Regions from separate parts of the Homo sapiens genome. Here all the other regions are linked to region 6. Evidence: promoter capture Hi-C in 16 types of primary human blood cells and fetal thymus (Javierre and others, 2016). All regions are on one chromosome and are shown on one strand. Each heading gives the region's core, a stretch centred on a gene start or on the middle of the fragment in contact. The rest is flanking DNA. Distances are from core to core; before and after follow the strand shown.

Region 1 (2,850 bases), core at 204-2,703, 540 kb before region 6:
CGGCGGTGGGAGGGAGTACTTTAGTGATACTAGGAATTTAATGCCAAATGTATTTGCTGTGTGACCTAGATGGCTGAATTTTTTAAAAAGTTCTTCAGCATCGAGAAAAATCCAGTTAGACCGATAGCTTAGAGAGCTGTAGCTTATTTCTAAATTTGACTTTCCCTAAAACTAAGTGTAAATGTCAGTGATATGAGGACTTTTTAAAGAAACAAAATAAAGAAACAAGATACACAAAAATAGAGCAACTATGGCCAATCTTGTTTCATCCCTTTTCATCTATGACCTTACTCATACCCCTATCCATAATAAATGACTTTCAGCAAATCCTAGATGTTCTGCATCCTATATCTTTCTAACAGATATTCTTAAAAAGTATGACCACAATACCATTATCCAATTATTCCTTGTTCAACAAGCACTTACAATTTCATCCATGTGAAAGGCACCTCATGATTTTTACTTGAGGATGAAGATAATTTCTCATGAATTCTCATTGTTTTAAGTCACCTGAAGAGGTGTGATATGCTACAATAAATCTATTTGTAGGGCTTGGCTTCAAGAACTGAAGATTCTGGACCTAGCTGATCTGGTGACAGTGAACTTGAGACCTCTAATAGCGTTTAACTATTTTTTTTTAACTTTTGGAAAGCAAGGTGTAGGAAGGGGATTTAGTTTTTCCATTAGGTCGTGGCATGTTAAGACTTGTTTCTTTTTCCAAAATGTTCAAGTTGCTGAAGAGAACTATGGACTATGGGTCAGGAAGTCCGTCGGTTTCGGGTCACATTCCGCTCCCGCAGGCCTGCGGGCCGCCCCAGCTGGTTTGTTCCCGGCGTGTTAGAGGTCAGAGGCCGAGGCCGCACTCAGTGCCTGGGTCTCGCGCAGCTCCAGGGCTCTCAGGCGACACTGGGCGTTTCCTTTCCGGCTTCGGAAAGTTTTGTTTTGGTTCAAGGAAAGGCGCCCTGTTGACCAAAGGCTTCTCAGTCTCCTCCGGGTGGCCAGCGGCCAAGTTTCCTCCAGCCCAGCGAGTCCAGACTATAGTCCGTTCGAGATCCTCGAAGGCCGGGGAAGCGAGTCTTGTGAGGAGAGAAAGCGAGTGGGCAGCCAGCCTGCCGACTCCACTGCCGCTGGCTGGCCCTTCTCTTCCCTCTGTCCCTGGGCCAGTGCCCGTCGCACCACAAACAGTGCGAGCAGTCTCCCCGGTGACTCCTCAAGGACCCAGTTCTCCACCATTCCTAAGAGAACACTCAACCCAGCCGCGCCCGGGATGCAGAGAGATCTACCAACACCCGAGAATGGGGACAGGGCGCATGCGCACACCGTGGCCGTGGCGTCTAAGTGCTCGCCCAGCTGCGGCAGCCGCTAGGTGGCGCATGCGCCCTGGAAGGTGCGGGCCGGTCTCTGGGAAGAAGGCGGCGGCGGCGAAAGGCGGGGGTGCTGTGGGGGCCGGGCCGTGTTTACACAGCGGCGGGCGGGCGCGGACGCGGAACCCGGCGCGGCGGCGGCACGATGGTCATGGCGTATTTCGTCGAGAATTTTTGGGTAAGCTTAGGATGTTGGAAGTCGTGTGTTTCGAAGTCCAAGGCTTTTGGCGCCTGAGCTTGGCCTGCGTGCGCTTCGGGCGGCGGCGGCGGCCCCTCCGGCAGGGCGAGCGTCCTCCTGCCGCGTCCCGCCTGGGTGAGGTCCGGCGGGCGACCGGTCGCCAGCCTATAGGGACTCCCGGGCTCGCAGCCCTATGGGGACGGGGGCTGTCACCGCGGCCCGGGGGCCCGCAGCGGGGCCGCCGGCCACCGGGGCTGGGACAAAGCGCCGGATGGGGCGGGAGACGGGACCCAGCCCCACCGGAGGCTCCCGGTGCCGCGCTCCGCGCGGGGCGTGCGCGGCAGCTCGGACGCGAAGGACGGGCCCGCGGCACAGCCGCCTCCCGCTGCGCGCTGGCTGGGAGCGCCGGGCGGTGGGGTTTTGCCTCCTGCCCTCACCGCGGGCCCCCCATCTGAGCGATCCCTTTTACCTCTGACGGTTTCCACACCAAATCCAGTGCGGGGTTGGGCTGGACTAGCACTTCCTCTCAGCCTCGCAGCTCGGCTCGTGGGTTTGCGCCCAGGACTTTGCCTCTGGGCCTGTTCACAAAGCGTTTAAAAGTTGGATTTAATGTAACTGGACTCCTTGGGCTTAAATGCATGGAGACCTCCCCCTACTCTGTGCTCCTTCCCCTTCCTCATTCTTTCCACCCCTTGTCTTAGCTCAGTATTAGATTCTTCTTTGAGAATTTCTCCGGCTCCCGGTGGAGTATTTTTCTGCAGTTATTGTTTTTTTTTTTGTAATGGGAAGTACAGTTCAGCCATGTACAGGAAAGGAACGTGTTTACTCAGGTATCTTTCGTGAATCCCATTTTATGCCCTGACAGTTGCAAGTACTGCAGGTCCATTTTCGTTGAGATTTAGACATATTTAAAGGGGTAATCTTTTAGCTAGTAAGGAATGTATGTTAAATTCTTAATTCTAAGTGCCTCAAGCATGGTCTTGGTTAGTAATCAGATCAGTTCATAGTTATTTATTTGTCTTGAATGTACCTTGTTTTCCACAAAGAACGTATATACTAGACCTTAGGTGTTTTGTTTTTTAAACAGCTTTATTGAGTTCACATTTCCGTACCAATACACTCATTTAAAGTGTAGTACAATTCAGAGGTTTTTTCATATGTTCATAGAGTTGTGTAAACATCACCATATCAGTTTTACAACAATTTCGTTATCCCAGAAAGAATCCCTAGACCCATTAGCAGTCACTCCCCATTTTCCCCCTGCCCCAGGCCTAGGCAACTAATGTATTTTCTGCCTCTCTGCATTTG
Region 2 (3,005 bases), core at 468-2,967, 680 kb before region 6:
TAATGAGTGATTTTCATAAAACCTGGACGTATGGGATATTTATGAGGTTTTGAATCTTATGAAAATCTCTTTTAGCTGGCTTTTTCTAACATGGTACTGGCAGGGGAAGTGGGTATGGGGAACAGGCACCACCTCATTGTTGCCAAGTTGGAGGAGACATCCAAGTTCCTCATTTGGCCTCCACTGACACCCAGGATGGGAGACTCCTTGTTACTGGCTTGTGATGATGAAAGTACTGGTTCTTTATTTGACCTTCTCTGACACCACCCTGGGAAGGAGGGCTTAGGGCACCTCTAAATAATTATTTAAATATTTTTCCATAATGCTAACCTGAAGATGTTTCAGTGTAAGGCAATTCTTTAAACTACCTAATAGTCTGGTGAGGGTGGGGATCTAGGCTATCCACTAGGACTTTGCTGACATGAGTAGGATGGGGTCACAATTCTGTCTGTAGTTTTGCCTAGAGTATGCAATTATTGTCAAAAAGTTTTCTGTCTGCCATACTCCTTTTCTGGCCCTTCAGCTGGAGCAGTGTTTTGATGGGGCCTTTTTAGTCTGTGCCATTGGTGTTTCTAGGTTGCTGATGTGTAAAGTTTCAAGTCTCTAAAGACTCTAAAGCAAAAAGAAAACACAGGCAATTAACCATCATGTTGTTCCTTGGGTTCCAAGGTCTCTAGTTGATCTGTCTTCTTTCCACCATTTGGAGACCTTTATGTTTGTTTTATACATAATGTTCAGAAGTTTTAATTATACTTAGTGGGAGGAATAGGGACAAGCATATCTATTCCAACTTCCCAAAAGTGGAAATCTAAGTAGACCTTTTTATAAGCAGAATCATATTATAATCACTAGGACATATTAATACTTAAAGGAGATTTGAAGTTAATTTTTCCCAGTTAATAACTCCCTAATTTATATTTTTAAGAATTCAAACTTTATATATTGGGTTTACTTTAAATGAGAAATGCCTGTAGATTATTTACACATTTCTGAATATTGACTACAATTGTCCTCTTCAATATTTTAATTAAATTCTTCCAAATAATTACTGAAACTTTTTTTCATAATGTCAACCTGAAGATGTTTCAGTGTAAGGCAATTCTTTAAACTACCTAATGTGAAATAATTGTCTTCCAGAAGTATAAATGGTGACAATATTTTAGAAGATCCTATTCTATTTTATTTGTTTATTTTTATTTTTTCATTTATTTTTGAGACGAAGTCTTCCTCTGTCACCCAGGCTGGAGTGCAAATGAATGGCCTGATCTTGGCTCACCGCAACCTCTGCCTCCCAGGTTCAAGCAATTCTCCTGCCTCAGCCTGCTGAGTAGCTAGAATTACAGGTGCCCGCCACCATGCCCAGCTAATTTTTGTATTTTTAGTAGAGACGAGGTTTCACCATGTTGGCCAGGCTGGCCTCAAACTCCTGACCTCAGGTAATCCGCCCATCTCGGCCTCCCAAAGTGCTGGGATTACAGGCGTGAGCCACTGCGCCCAGGCTTATTCTATTTTAGAAGCTTGCCTGTATATAAAAAATTACTTATCTTACTAGGTTTCCATATACTCACCAACAATTGCCTATTAAAGACATTTATTTAACAATTTTTGAATTTCCAGACTTACTTTTTCAATAATATTCCTCCTTCTCAAACATCTTTGATTTATATTAATGTCTAGTAATACTTTCATTCATTGCCCTCTAACAACCTGCCCTGCACTCTGCTAATGAGTTCTTTATGTAACTTATCTTACTTAATCTTGTTTCAGACAAAAGAAAGTGAAGCTCAGAAAGACTGAGCCAAAAGCATTCATAAATGGTAAAGCCAGCATCTGCATATAGGTCCTCTGCCTGCAAGCTCCACACTTGTTTTAACAATGCTACACCTGACAAAATAAGCATCTTGTCATTCCTAGGTGAAAGCTTATAGGTATGTTTTCTCCCTCAGATGCTATTTTGTAACTTCTAACATGTTTTTATTTTTATCTTGGTAAATTTTTCACCTAAGAAAATAAAATTAATACAGAAATTTTAAATATATCTATGTTTTAAAGGTAAAAACAAAGTTTATAAATTTTAACTTCATTTTTGTCATTTAAAAATTATTAATAATTCTTCAAAGTTTTACCACATGAGCATATTTAGGTATAAAGAGAAAATACTACTGGATAGCTGCTATTATATGTGCAAACTGTCAAAGAAAAATAAAATAAGCCATGTTAATAAATCCTTGTTAATAAGATTTACTGTTTAAAACATGTTTTTTTAATTTGACCTAGAAGAGACAAAAAGGCTACATGTGTAAGAATCTCTATTCAACAGAACTATTTTATATTAGTATTTTCATTCACTTTAATTTTTACAAAAGAATACATATTTAATTTGCTTAATCTCAATTTTACAACATCTGATAATCAACATTTTTTTCTTTCAAAATGTTTTGGCCAATAAATCCTCTTATGCTAAATAATATGTTACTTTTTCTTCAATTCATTTCAGCTATTTCCAAACTATTAATCAAGTGAACTCCTACTAATTGCTTAGTCAGTAGTATTTACATCTGTCATTATTTGCTAATCTTTTGGATTTTAGAAATATTTGTGTTTTTTCCTTTAGCAAAGTAGAATGCAAATACTACACATCTTCTGATTTGTATAGATCCTAGTCCACGATGTAACTTTTCAAATGCAGAAATAAGCCATTTGTTATTTGGATAAATATACTTTTTCTGGGTATATTTTCCTGCAGATAAACTACCATTCAGAAAAGTTTATATTACATTTTTTTCTTGGTAATCTACTCCTATTTGGGGGGGGGGGCTCTTTTTGATATACACTACTGTATCCAATTACTATCAAATTAATATTATAACATGTTGAAATCATGAATATTTTAGTTATCTATATTTTCCCTTGCTAAGTTCAATTTCCCAATGATTAAAAAATGGTACTTTTAGTCTCAAATTTTAAGTTAAATAAACTAGTTGTTCCTGCAAAATGACTGTAAT
Region 3 (3,061 bases), core at 280-2,779, 640 kb before region 6:
ACACTTCTAGGAACATATTTTTAAGTGAAATAATTTTTTGGAGTTTCTGAAAATCATCTCTAAGAATTGGCAACAGACTCTTCATCACTTACTAACCTTCACAGAAAATTCTTGGTATATGTATAGTAGTGCAAGTACTCTGACTCTACATTATCAGTTGATGTAGGACTCTGTTCCTCTAGACCAGAGTTTTCCAACCTCAGCACTTGACATTTTGGACTGGATAATTCTTTGTTGTTGGGCTATTTTGTCTGTGCACTACAGGATGTTAATCAGCACACCTGACCTCTACCCACTGGATACCAGCAGCAGCCACATACCCTGCTGTAGCAACCAAAAATGTCTCTAGACCATGCCACGTGTTGGGGTCAGGGAGTGCCTGACTGAGCTCCTTGAGGGAAAGGACCATGTGTTATTTTTGTATTTCTTAGCATCTACTAATAATATATACAATATTTAAATATTTTAATTAAAAGATTACTGATTATAAAAATAGACTAGCAGCTTTGGCTTTTAAAATTTTTATTAACCTTAACAATACATGTTGGGAATCTTATCAAGGAAGTCTATTTGGAAGGGACCACATCTGAATGACTGTGGGGTAATTCATCAGATGAAGTAAAGATGTTTCTCTTGTTTAGAGAGTATACAGTTTGTTTGTAATTTTATTATTTCAATGAATATTCTCTTGTGTATGTTTGTACAATTACAGGAAGATTTCTATAGGATTAATTTGTGTATTTGGCATTATTGGGTCAAAGTGTGTTTAAACATTTTTAAGATTTTAATAGGTGTTGCCAAGCACACTGATTTCATTCCCGTATTTGTTATAAATACTGAGAAATATTAAGTTATGCTTGGTTTCTTTTAGACAGATCCAGATCTTGCTCATTCCCTTATTTCTTTTATATTTTAACTTTAGGAAAGACTAATTTGCAGGAACGATCAGATCTTGCTGCTTTTGGATCTTAATGGAAGGCTATTTTATTGTAAGGGCTATATCTTGAAAATGCTATCAGTACATTAATTCTTACTATACAATTTAATTTTTTTGTGTGTGGAGAATAAATTTGCCGGGAGCTTTACTTTCTAGATTCTTTTTTAGTTCTTTATCATTGAGAGCAACCTTCTCAGAACTAAAGGTAGAAAATTTATACACATGGTGATATTTGCTGTTCAGTGATAGTCATTGAGTGTTTACTAGATGCCAGGCATTTTCTATATATCCAATTGAATTTTCAAAATAACCCTATGAAGAGTTTTCTTTTTTCATTTTTGTACACTCATATTTTGCAGCTTAGAATGCATATAATTTGCCTATTGTCAGAGCTTATACTCTTCTGGCACTAAAAGATCCATAATCACTAAGCATATTATATCACTAATATGTTTACTAAGGCAGAAAAAAATATTAACACGAAACCTTTCTGTTGTCCTTGTGTTTGTGTTAACACAAAACTTTCCTTACATTTGTGTGTATTTGCATAATTCATTGACTATCACAACTCTACTGCATAACACAGTTGAGATAATCCATTCAGTCAGAACAACATGATCAGTGAGCATGGGCCACCCAGCCTCGAAGATCGCCTTTCTGGCGACTCATTCTTGATCCAGTAAGTGGGAACTGTTGTAGGAGTATGTAGCCTGCCTACATGAGGGAGAGTGTTGTAAGCAGTGAAACATACAGGATTATTCTCAAGTGATACTCATCTGCTTAAGTTTTTCCTACCATGGTCCTTGGCTCTGGTTCCAGATTAAGTCAGGGAGCTATTTTTAGCTTCTTAATGTGTCTTTTATTTGAACCTAACAGACTCATAAGTTTATCACCCAGTGTTAAGTGCTGCTAACGTTTTGGCATATTTTCTTTCTACTCTTTTGTATGGATAAATTAGAATTTTTTTTTTTTTTTGAGACAGAATTTCGTTCTTGTTGCCCAGACTGGAGTGCAGTGGCGTGATCTCGGCTCACTGCAACCTCCGCCTCCCGGGTTCAAGCGATTCTCCTGCCTCAGCCTCCTGAGTAGCTGAGATTACAGGCATGCACCACATGCCCGGCTAGTTATGTATTTTTAGTAGAGATGGGGTTTCTCCATGTTGGTCAGGCTGGTCTTGAACTCCCAACCTCATGTGATCCACCCACCTCGGCCTCCCAAAGTGCTGGGATTACAGGTGTGAGCCACCGTGCCCAGCCATTAGAATTAATTTTAATTGGTGGAGCTATTCTTGGTATTATGGCAGAAAAAGAAGTTGCATTCTTATACTTGGTAAATTTAACTCAAAAAACCTTAGAGGGTGAAATGTTGAAAAACACTATTAGAAACAGATCTGGTTTATGTGAGGTTTTTTTTCCACAAGGTACGGAATGGTGATATGGGTGTTGGTGGTGAGTGTTACTAATTTTTTGAGACAGGGTCTCACTCTGCCCAGGCATGAGTGTGGTCTCATAGTCATGGCTCACTGCAGCCTCGACCTCCTTGACTCAGGTGATCCTCTCACTTCAGCCTCCTGAATAGCTGGGATCACAGGCGCATACCATCACGCCCAGCTGATTTTCTTGTATTTTTAGTAGTGAGAGGGTTTCATCATGTTGCCCAGGCTGGTCTGGAATTCCTGGGCTCAAGAGATCTGCCCGCCTCGGCCTCCCAGAATGCTGGGATTACAGCATGAGCCACCATGCCTGGCCAAATGTTATTATTTACATAAAATGTGTTTGTGCACACAGTTGCTCACATGGCAATGCCTGACATAATGCTGTTGGATTTCCTAAAGAAGTGTGTTTTTGTTCAAGGTATTTTGATCACAACTATAGCCTCCAAGGGAGAATTGCAGAATTGGCCTGACCTCTTACCAAAACTCTGTAGCCTGTTGGATTCTGAAGATTATAATACCTGTGAGGTAAGGATATTTGTTTCATACATAATTGGGTGTTTTCTGTTTTTCTTGTCATGTTGTGTATTAGCAGCTTTTGGGAAAAATAGTTCCTCTGAAACATACAGCTTCTCAAAACTTAGAAACCTAAAGTTACCTTTGTGTTATATTACATTTGTAAATCATTTATT
Region 4 (3,031 bases), core at 53-2,552, 580 kb before region 6:
TACACTTAATATGTTAACATTGGGTGCAATAATTTAGTAGCATTAGCTTTAGTTACAAATATAACTGGATCTTTCTGCTGACAACTTAGGTTGTATGAGTTATGCTTAAAAGCTTTAAATCTGATGTTTCCTGTACCTGCCACACTATGTTAGAATGTGTCCTTCAAACATATCCTCCTGCAACTTCTCAAACTGTACTAAATTGATATTTCTTGAAGTCTAACTCTGTGCTAACAGATCTCCATTTTAAATAGAATACGGTTTTAATTTTTGATAAGCTGCTGAATTTTAAAGAGAGTTTTTTGGGGCCACCAAATATTTTGGATCATGCAGAGAATATATATTGTACTGTAGTAATTTTGTATTTACATTTGTATGATGTGACATAATAGATGTGAATGTTAATCACTGCTTGACTATGTTAATAAAGTTGTTTAACTATAGATGTTGCACTCTGATTTTTAATGAAAGGAAATGAGTTTTCTTTTTCCCTCTTACCCCATTTTGGATCTAGATAAGCCTTATGTTTTTTGGGATTTTTTTCCTTGTTTTTAGTTTGAGGTTTTGTTTTGTTTTTTCCTTAGCTTACACATTAGTACACTTTTGTTGTTGAACATCATTTATTTCTTAAAACAAGTGTTTTCTTATTTGTATAGTATAGTAAAAACCTGTTTTTCCACATTTTAACTTAACTCCTTGATGTGTTTTAAACAGTTGATTATAGGTTCTGCTGTTTGAGGATAGGGGACATACTATTCTGTAAAAGGAATTAAAGGCGAAATTGTGAATATAAAAAGTTGATGTAAGGAGAGATTGCATGAGTGTGTATGAATGTATGTCCTATTAAGGCTTCCTCTTTATCCTTCAAACAGTTAAGATTTGTAATTTGGGGAATTAACATTTATAAGAGTAATTTTTTCTTCAGGTTGTAAGGCATTAATATAGTTGCATGTTACTAATTAAATGTATTAACACATTTCAGGGAGTATGTGTGCATAACTGTCATGGTTTTTTTTGTTTTTTGTCTTGTTTTTGAGATGGAGTCTTGCTCTGTTGCCCAGGCTGGAGTGCAGTGGCACAGTCTTGTCTCACTGCAACCTCTGCCTCCCGGGTTCAAACGACTCTCCTGCCTCAGCTTCCCAAGTAGTTGGGATTAAGGCATGTGCCGTCACACCCGGCTAACTTTTATATTTTCAGTAAAGATGGGGGTTCACCATGTTGGCCAGGCTAGTCTCGAACTCCTGGCCTCAGGTGATCCACCTGTCTCGGCCTCTCAAAGTGTTGGGATTACAGCTGTGAGCCACCATGCCTGGCCTTGTCATACAGCCTTTTGAGATTTAGAACAGGAAAGAGCCTAAAATTAAATCAGTACAATTCCAAAACTTTTAAGAGAGGTGAGGCTTGGGTTTCTTTTTCTTTGTTACCTGGCCAAGAAAATATTTGAGAAGAGAGAGTTCTCTTGTGTTAACAAGAAAATAAAATTGAAACTTGGACATCATGTTCTAAAACACAGCCTCAAGAGTTTAATATTCCAGAATTTTAGGACTTAGGTTGTGGGGAAAAGATAATTAAAGTCATCCTAATTCTTGTTCAAGATTAGGAACCAAAAGTCTTTTCTAAGTCGTCAATATTTTAGTGATACTAAAGCCCTATCCATTTTATGCAAATGATCTTTTTCTTCTCAGTTCAGGTGATGAAACCATCGTAATGATAAATGAGTAAGGCTGGCTTAACAATTCTTGGACTGGCGGGCATTCTTGTAATGAGTTCATAATCAGTATGACTCCACAATTTCACGTGATTCTTTAAGAATGATTGGAAAAGTGGCAGCAGGAACTACAGAGCTAACTTGAATTTCCTTTGTGTTCTATACAGTTGAATATGGAATTACCAAAGCTCTGTCATTTTAAAAATTCTTTATTTCTGAGTTGTTAATTTGATGTAAAAGTGTAAGAACCCCCGAAACATCTCCATTATTCAGATAGACACAAATAATGTACACATCACAATTAGTATATATTTTTTTTAATTGAGAGGACTCTGGCTCTGTCTCCCAGTCTTCAGTGGCACGATATCTGCTCCCTGCAACTTCCGCCTCCTAGGTTCAAGCAATTCTCCCATCTCAGCCTCCCAAGTAGCTGGGATTACAGGCGCACGCCACCAGGCCTGGCTAATTTTTTTTTTTTTTTTTTTTTTTTTTTTTTTTTAGGAGAGAGTTTGGCCGTGTTGGCCAGGCTGGTCTCGAACTCCTGACCTCGAGTGAACACCTCGAGTGGTACGCCCACCTTTGCCTCCCAAATTGCTGGGATTACAGTTGTGAGCCACCGCCCCTGGCGACAATTTGTAAATTTAACGCAATTTCTAAACCATTGGCAAGAACAATACAGAGAAGAGTTGTTATACTGAGACCCTTTAGGTTTTTGTACCAGTCAATTCTTACATGCATGTTATGGCAGTCTCACTCTGATGATTTAAATCTTAAGTATTCTTTTCAAGCTTTGTGTTACTTCTTGAAGAACTTGAAACAATTTTAAGAAAGACAAGTGAACAGTTAAATGAATTGTAATACAACTACCTAGTGATAACTGCTGTTAATATCCTGTGCACATATATAAATATATGGTGAATTTGTGTTTTTAGTTATATCCAGAATTGTTTGTTAATATACATGGACATACCTACATATTATTCTATAAGCAATTTATGCAACTGTCTTACTGTTGTTGGACATTCAGAAGTTTTTTCTAATTTTTCACTCTTAGAAATAAAGTTTTAGTGAGAGTCGCAATGCTTAAATGTTTGCAAACATCTGTAGCGATTTCTTAGTGAAACTAGCAGGTCAAAGGTAGTTGGTCTAGTCAGATTACCTTTCAGTTAAATTGTACTCATTTTCATATCCAGCACCAACTCCAGTGGATTCTGTCATGTGTGCTGTAAGTTGTGATTTAATAGCATGATTTTCTAACTTTAGGAAATTTTATATACAAAATCTAGGTTTTTATATTACATATTTAACAGTTATTTGAGTCTT
Region 5 (2,997 bases), core at 146-2,645, 600 kb before region 6:
GGGGAGGGGAACCTGCTACTGTAGAAACTAGTAGAGCAAGCTCATAAATGATCAGGATCCTGTTGAGCGCAGTTTCAAGCATTCATCATAATCTTCAGTATACCCAGAAAGTTTAGCATGTGTACTTTATTCTTCCTAGTGCCTATCTTCAGTTGCCACAGCACTGCAGTCTGGATTCCTTCCGTACTGTGAACCTGTGTATCAGCGTTGTGTAAACCTAGTACAGAAGACTCTTGCACAAGCCATGGTAATTTTTTTAAAATGTCTTCCTCTTCTTGACATGGTGGACATTTTTCTAAAGATAGGTATAATGTATACAGACTTTTTAAGTAGTTAATTAAAACCAAACTTACAAAAAACATTGTGTCTAATTTCAGCTAAACAATGCTCAACCAGATCAATATGAAGCTCCAGATAAAGATTTTATGATAGTGGCTCTTGATTTACTGAGTGGCCTGGCTGAAGGACTTGGAGGCAACATTGAACAGCTGGTAGCCCGAAGTAACATCCTGACACTAATGTATCAGTGCATGCAGGTGAGACTTGAAAGGTGAAAATGAATTGAAGCCTGTTTCTCTGTGTCACATTGGGGTTAATTTCTTCTTATTTCTTGTAGGATAAAATGCCAGAAGTTCGACAGAGTTCTTTTGCCCTGTTAGGTGACCTCACAAAAGCTTGCTTTCAGCATGTTAAGCCTTGTATAGGTATGAATATTTTCTACTGCTATGAATATGGTTTTTTAAAGTTAACATTTACATCAGCTTTGTTTTTTTATTATTAAACTGAAATTGCATGGAATCCCAACATTTATAAATGTACACTTTATTGGTTAAAGTAAACTTGCTGTGATTGAAACAGGCAAGATGGCAGGAACCCCTAATATTTCCTTGAGCTTGCCATCATCTCAGCTTTTTAGGTACTCCTGTGACTGGAGGAAAGCTTAGTAATATACTTTAGAGTAAAGGACATGCCCACCAGGGAAGCCTTGGTACCATGGACTAGTTAATAGATTCTTTTTTGAGTAGCCACCTTTTTGGTAGAGGTACACAGAAATAGTAATAATCAGGTTTTCTTCTCTAGCAAACCAGCATACTTTTTCAGATATTGCAGAAAACTTCCAACAAATGTCACTTTAACTGAGACTGGGCCTGGGGGCTCACACCTGTAATGCCAGCACTTTGGGAAGCCAAGGCAGGCAGATCACTTGAGGTCAGGAGTGCGAGATTCGAGACTAGCATAGCATTTGTCTTGGCCTTCTGTGACAATGATAAGAAATTCCTTGAATGTTGTACCCGGAATTGTTCTTAAACCTATGGGTTATAAATGAGTTATGGGATTTTTTTCCCCCTTTTCTGCATCTCAGCATGTTGGGTAACAATTATTTTAATACAGCCGGGCACGGCGGCTCAGACCTGTAATGCCAGCACTTTGGAAGGCCAAGGCGGGCAGGTCACGAAGTCAGGAGATCAAGACCATCCTGGCTAACACGGTGAAACCCCGCTTCTACTAAAAATACAAAAACTTAGCCAGGCGTGGTGGCTTGTGCCTGTAGTTCTAGCTACTTGGGAAACTGAGGCAGGAAAATCGCTTGAACCCGGGAGGCAGAGTCTGCAGTGAGCTGATACTGTACCACTACACTCCAGCCTGGGCAACAGAGCAAGACTCCGTCTCAAAAAAAATTATTTTAATACTTCATTTAAACCTTAATTTAAAATATTAATTGAATGTTTTGTCATCTGATATAATTGTGCTTTTGGATAACCATTTCTCAAAAAACTAACATAATTAACATTAATTATGATATATTAAGAACCATCAAGTTTAAACCTAACAGTGTAATGAATTCTTATGGGAAGCTTATCATTCTCATATTTACCACCTAATTTAGTTTTTTAGTTGAAACTTATATGAAAGGATTTAATTTTTTTATTATAAAGTGTTTAAGACGTACAAAAGTAGAAAAAATGTAACAAACCTCCTATCACCCAGCTTCAACTGTCCAGTCCTGTTTCCTATATACTGTTGTCAGTGGTGAGACACATAGATCTCAGATATTTTGGAGCAAATCTCAAACACAGCATTTGAAGTCTTAATATTTTAGTACATACTATACTATCTCTTCTTACAATTGTTTTTTGTTAAAGAAACCATGTTTTTTATTCTAAAGAGTTTCCTTTACTGTGGATTTTACTGATTGCATCTTTGTTGTCTTTAACATGTTCCTCTGTCCGTTGTATTTACTGTAAATTGTTTGGATACAGAGACTGAGGTTTAATGAGATTTACGTTGTTTTGTTTTTAAGACTTTATAGATGGTATTGTGTACTTAGTGTACATAGTGTCTAGTTGTCCCTCCTTTTTTTTTTTTTAATGTTACCAATCTTGATGATTGTCTCAATTAGTGGTTCTCAACTAGGGGCAATTTTGCCATTCGGGGAACATTTGCCAGTGTCTGGAGACATTTTGTTTGATGCTGGAGAGGTGCCATTGATGTCTAGTGGGTAGAAGCAAAGGATGTTGCTAAACATCTTATAATACAGGAGACAGCTCCCCTTCCCCCCAACAAAAAAATGATCTGGCCCAAACTGTCAATATTGCTGAGATCAAGAAACCCTGGCTTACATCTCCTGATTTATTAGGAGTTTAAAAAATTATGATATTCTAATTCTTCATTTAATAATGAAGATACTTATATAGGGAGACATTTCCCATATCAATAAATTACTATCCTGAGGTAAAATCATATAGCAGAGGCAAGATAAATACTTGATTCTTTTTTTTATTTACCAATTTTCAAAATAATGAATTGATTCCTATCATCCTCCAAAGGTATCTTTGATGTTTCAGAGTTTTGTTTTTGTTTGATTGTTTTTAGTGCTAGTGTGACTTCATGATGTTCAAGCTGTTGTACTGCTTGCAGTGAGAACTTAAGTTGGCTCCCGAGTCCTTTCATTATGACAAGATAGTCCACTTATTTTGCACATTTCCTGCCTTTGCC
Region 6 (3,135 bases), core at 476-2,975:
GGGAAAGTGGTGCACACCTGTAGTTTCAGCTTCTCAAGTGGCTGAGACTGAAGGATCCTTTGAGCGCAGGAGTTTGAGCCCAGCCTAAGCAACAAAGTGAGACCCCATCTCTTTTAATTTTTTTAAAGTTTTATATTTTTTAAAAAAATTATAAAAATAAAATTAGCAGCATCCCTGGTTTCAAAAAGTAGAAATAAATAAATAAATAAAAGTAGCTCACAATATTTCCTGAAAACAGGTGTATTAAAAGGGCAGAGGAGAGGGAAGGCAAAGAAAAAGAAAAAAAAGGTGGCAGGTTACATACATACAATCTTGTCTCTATAAAAGCTCAGAAAACATCACGTGACTAGGAAGTTTCAAATGCCTCCAATATAACATGGAGGAGAGGAAAAAAACTGTTCCTGGACAAAGATACACATTTCTTCCAAAAGGGGGAGTCTTTCTATATATTTTGTAATATCTCCAGAGCACAGCATAATGTTGGTACTGCCATTTTGGCCTTTGTCATTAGGAAGGTAACCCACATAAGCCTAACTACAAACACCCTTACCTGTACTAAAACTTCACTCATATTTAACTGAAGCAACATTGTTTTTTGTAAATATAACTGTAACAATTATTCTAAAAGGCAATACAGCTGTCCTCACCAGTTATGTTCTTGAGACATCAGTTGCAACAAACTTATATGTAAAAAGTATTCAAAAAGTTTAAACATTGATCTTAACTGGAGAGGGGTCTGCACTTGAACAAGTTTTCTTGCTACACACATTGCATTCTAAGATTTCGGACTCACTTTTGAATATGCAAAGACATTTCATGGTTAAGACCACAAAAAGGCTGATCAGAGAACATTTTTATTTAAATTGCCATTTTAAATATCAGTCGTTTTATCTTAAAGCTTGTCCTGGGTTTAACAAAGTTTAACTCACATCCACGCGTTGTCTCTCCAAACACAGCAGGCAGAAATTCTCCTTTGATTGGATTAAGATAGATAAAGTCTGCTTAACCGTGAATCGCTAATTGTCAAATCCATGCCAATTCGGTACCTAGGAGTCAATTTTTTTGCCTGATAAACAAGATAATTGTGTGGACCGTTTTAAGGTGGTTAGTCATCTGCTAAATTGGCTGAAATGCGGATTACCCAGTTCCTTCGTCGTACAGAGTTGCATTCTGAGGAGTGGGGCTCGGGGATACAGCCCCCAGAAATTCTGAACCTCGGTCCCGCAATCTACCACACCACCTAACCTTGGAAGGCCAAACTAACTTCACTATTTTTGACAAAATGCTTTGGTAATGGCTCATTCGGGCCGAGAGGGAAATTCTGCAATTCTCCAACCCACACCTCCAGCAAGGGGAGAGCTGCTTGAGTGGTGAGCACAAGCTGGGCACCTCCGGCGTCTCCAGGAAACGTGAATAGGCCCTTTCTTCGGAGGGCACAGAACTTCAGGATCAGGGCCCAATGGAGACTGAGCGGACTTAACCCTAACTGTGCACAGGACCGCGCTCTCCGACCCCTTTGTGGCCTCTCCCAGAGGTACGGGCTGCGCCCCAAGCCAGCAGTCTCTCGTAGGGCCTACAGCCGGCAGCCGCTGGAGCAGGAGGAGGAGAATAGGGACTCGCTGGACCATCACAAACGCTGTCGCGCGTGCGCAGGGAGGAACCGAGTTCGCGGCGAAGTCAGTTTCCTGACTCTTGAAGGAAGTGGCCTTGTGTCACTTCCGGCCTCCCTTTAGCTGCCATCTTGCGTCCCCGCGTGTGTGCGCCTAATCTCAGGTGGTCCACCCGAGACCCCTTGAGCACCAACCCTAGTCCCCCGCGCGGCCCCTTATTCGCTCCGACAAGGTACAAAAAGGCTCTGGACGGCGGCGTGGTAGGAGGACGGGAGCGGGGGCGGGAAGTTCCCTGAAGGAGCGAGACAGGGAGGGACAGGGCAGAGGAGGAGAGGAAGGCGATGCGACGGACAGGCGCACCCGCTCAGGCTGACTCTCGGGGGCGAGGTCGAGCCAGGGGCGGCTGCCCTGGGGGCGAGGCGACGCTGTCTCAACCTCCACCTCGCGGCGGAACCCGAGGACAGGAGCCTCAGGTACCGCGAGGCTTGCGGAGAGTGGCCGGGCCGGGCAGGCCCTGGCTAGGCCGAGGCCAGGCCAGGGCCAGGGGTGGGGGGTGCTGGCCAGGCGTGGGGTAGAGCCTTTCATCCGGGCCTGCCAAGAGCGGGGAGCTGTGGGGGAGTGGTGGGGAGGCGGGTGCTCTTTGGGCTCCCTGGAAACCCAAATTTGGAGCTTTGCGGGGTGGATTTGGGATCCAGGTTTCGGCCTGTGTAGGACGTTTATTTTCCTGCTGGTATCTTGGGAAATAACGAGCATGGAATGCTAGAGTGAGCTAAACCTATCCTTGCTGAGGATTTCCTCTTTTTCTAGATGAAAGAAACAATCATGAACCAGGAAAAACTCGCCAAACTGCAGGCACAAGTGCGCATTGGTGGGAAAGTAAGTTTTAATAGTTCGGGTTTGTGGGTTTTTTTTTTAAGGTTTAGGTATTTTAAAAAACATATTCCTTTTGCGCTTCTTATATTATCGGTGACAAACTTTGCCTATCGAGGGAAATTCACGGAGCTAGCAAATCTCGAGGAGCGGGGGAGACGAGGGTTGGAGACACATCAGTGAGACGAGCTAAAAACATCGCCTTTGTGTAAACATGTTTGTGTTTTCAGTGTTACAGAGTGTAAGTAGAACACAAAAGTGTTTCCTAATTTAATTAGTAAGGAAAATGTGTCATTTCAGTTAGATCGTTGTGCACATCATACCCTTGACTTGTTTTGGCCTGAGTTTTCTAAAGTCAGTGCTTGTTTGTCTCTCTTGTAAATTGAGACCTTTCTGTACTGCTTTCTGAACTAAATATTCTTTAGGGTAGTTGCATATTTCAAGGGTATTTGAAGATACGGGTACATTTTGGAGTTTAAGAGCAGTGACTATTAGATTTGAAAATATAACCCAAGTAGGTATCTTTCCTGTTCTGACTTTGTATTACTGTAAAAATGAGGGAATTAAAGTGACTGATTTTTAAATGATCAGTTTTTGATTAATTGTTTTTTTCCTGGTGGATACTGATTCACATCAAGGGGATTCTTTTTTGAAG

Evidence for each region. Contacts are between HindIII fragments. The CHiCAGO score rates a contact against its expected background, and 5 or more counts as called.
Region 1: the fragment with the promoter of FCHO2 here is called in contact with the fragment with the promoter of BTF3 in region 6 in 12 of 17 cell types (total B cells, total CD8 T cells, erythroblasts and 9 more); the score reaches 12.3 in total B cells.
Region 2: a contact is called between a fragment that was not itself captured here and the fragment with the promoter of BTF3 in region 6, in 9 of 17 cell types (total B cells, total CD8 T cells, activated CD4 T cells and 6 more). The highest score is 9.7, in total B cells.
Region 3: a contact is called between a fragment that was not itself captured here and the fragment with the promoter of BTF3 in region 6, in 2 of 17 cell types (activated CD4 T cells and naive CD4 T cells). The highest score is 7.9, in activated CD4 T cells.
Region 4: a fragment that was not itself captured here is called in contact with the fragment with the promoter of BTF3 in region 6 in 1 of 17 cell types (erythroblasts); the score reaches 5.8 in erythroblasts.
Region 5: a fragment that was not itself captured here is called in contact with the fragment with the promoter of BTF3 in region 6 in 5 of 17 cell types (activated CD4 T cells, total CD8 T cells, total CD4 T cells and 2 more); the score reaches 8.0 in activated CD4 T cells.

Annotation. Positions count from the first base shown.
Region 1 is chr5:72,954,588-72,957,437 of GRCh38, forward strand. FCHO2 (FCH and mu domain containing endocytic adaptor 2) reads left to right here and starts at 1,454. Exons shown (of 26, transcript NM_138782.3): 1 at 1,454-1,542. The coding sequence starts at 1,510. It overlaps FCHO2-DT (FCHO2 divergent transcript), which reads right to left and starts at 1,297. Exons shown (of 2, transcript NR_186392.1): 1 at 427-1,297. RefSeq lists a silencer at 1,347-2,046. The HindIII fragment of the contact is 4,273 bases long and covers 1-1,545 here.
Region 2 is chr5:72,812,529-72,815,533 of GRCh38, forward strand. The region is part of intron 1 of TNPO1-DT (TNPO1 divergent transcript); the gene reads right to left. Among named protein-coding and RNA genes, the nearest start is that of TNPO1-DT, 2.5 kb to the right of the region's middle. The HindIII fragment of the contact is 404 bases long and covers 1,516-1,919 here.
Region 3 is chr5:72,859,018-72,862,078 of GRCh38, forward strand. TNPO1 (transportin 1) reads left to right here. Exons shown (of 25, transcript NM_002270.4): 5 at 2,791-2,897. Among named protein-coding and RNA genes, the nearest start is that of MIR4804, 18 kb to the right of the region's middle. The HindIII fragment of the contact is 7,166 bases long and covers 1-3,061 here.
Region 4 is chr5:72,913,946-72,916,976 of GRCh38, forward strand. It overlaps TNPO1 (transportin 1), which reads left to right. Exons shown (of 25, transcript NM_002270.4): 25 at 1-443. Among named protein-coding and RNA genes, the nearest start is that of MIR4804, 37 kb to the left of the region's middle. The HindIII fragment of the contact is 2,384 bases long and covers 111-2,494 here.
Region 5 is chr5:72,893,000-72,895,996 of GRCh38, forward strand. TNPO1 (transportin 1) reads left to right here. Exons shown (of 25, transcript NM_002270.4): 16 at 140-247; 17 at 378-536; 18 at 617-704. Among named protein-coding and RNA genes, the nearest start is that of MIR4804, 16 kb to the left of the region's middle. The HindIII fragment of the contact is 917 bases long and covers 938-1,854 here.
Region 6 is chr5:73,496,717-73,499,851 of GRCh38, forward strand. BTF3 (basic transcription factor 3) reads left to right here and starts at 1,726. Exons shown (of 6, transcript NM_001037637.2): 1 at 1,726-2,083; 2 at 2,418-2,486. The coding sequence starts at 1,952. It overlaps BTF3-DT (BTF3 divergent transcript), which reads right to left and starts at 1,604. Exons shown (of 1, transcript NR_186388.1): 1 at 837-1,604. RefSeq lists enhancers at 1,561-1,620, 1,651-1,950, 1,714-2,524 and a silencer at 2,161-2,210. The HindIII fragment of the contact is 2,385 bases long and covers 897-3,135 here.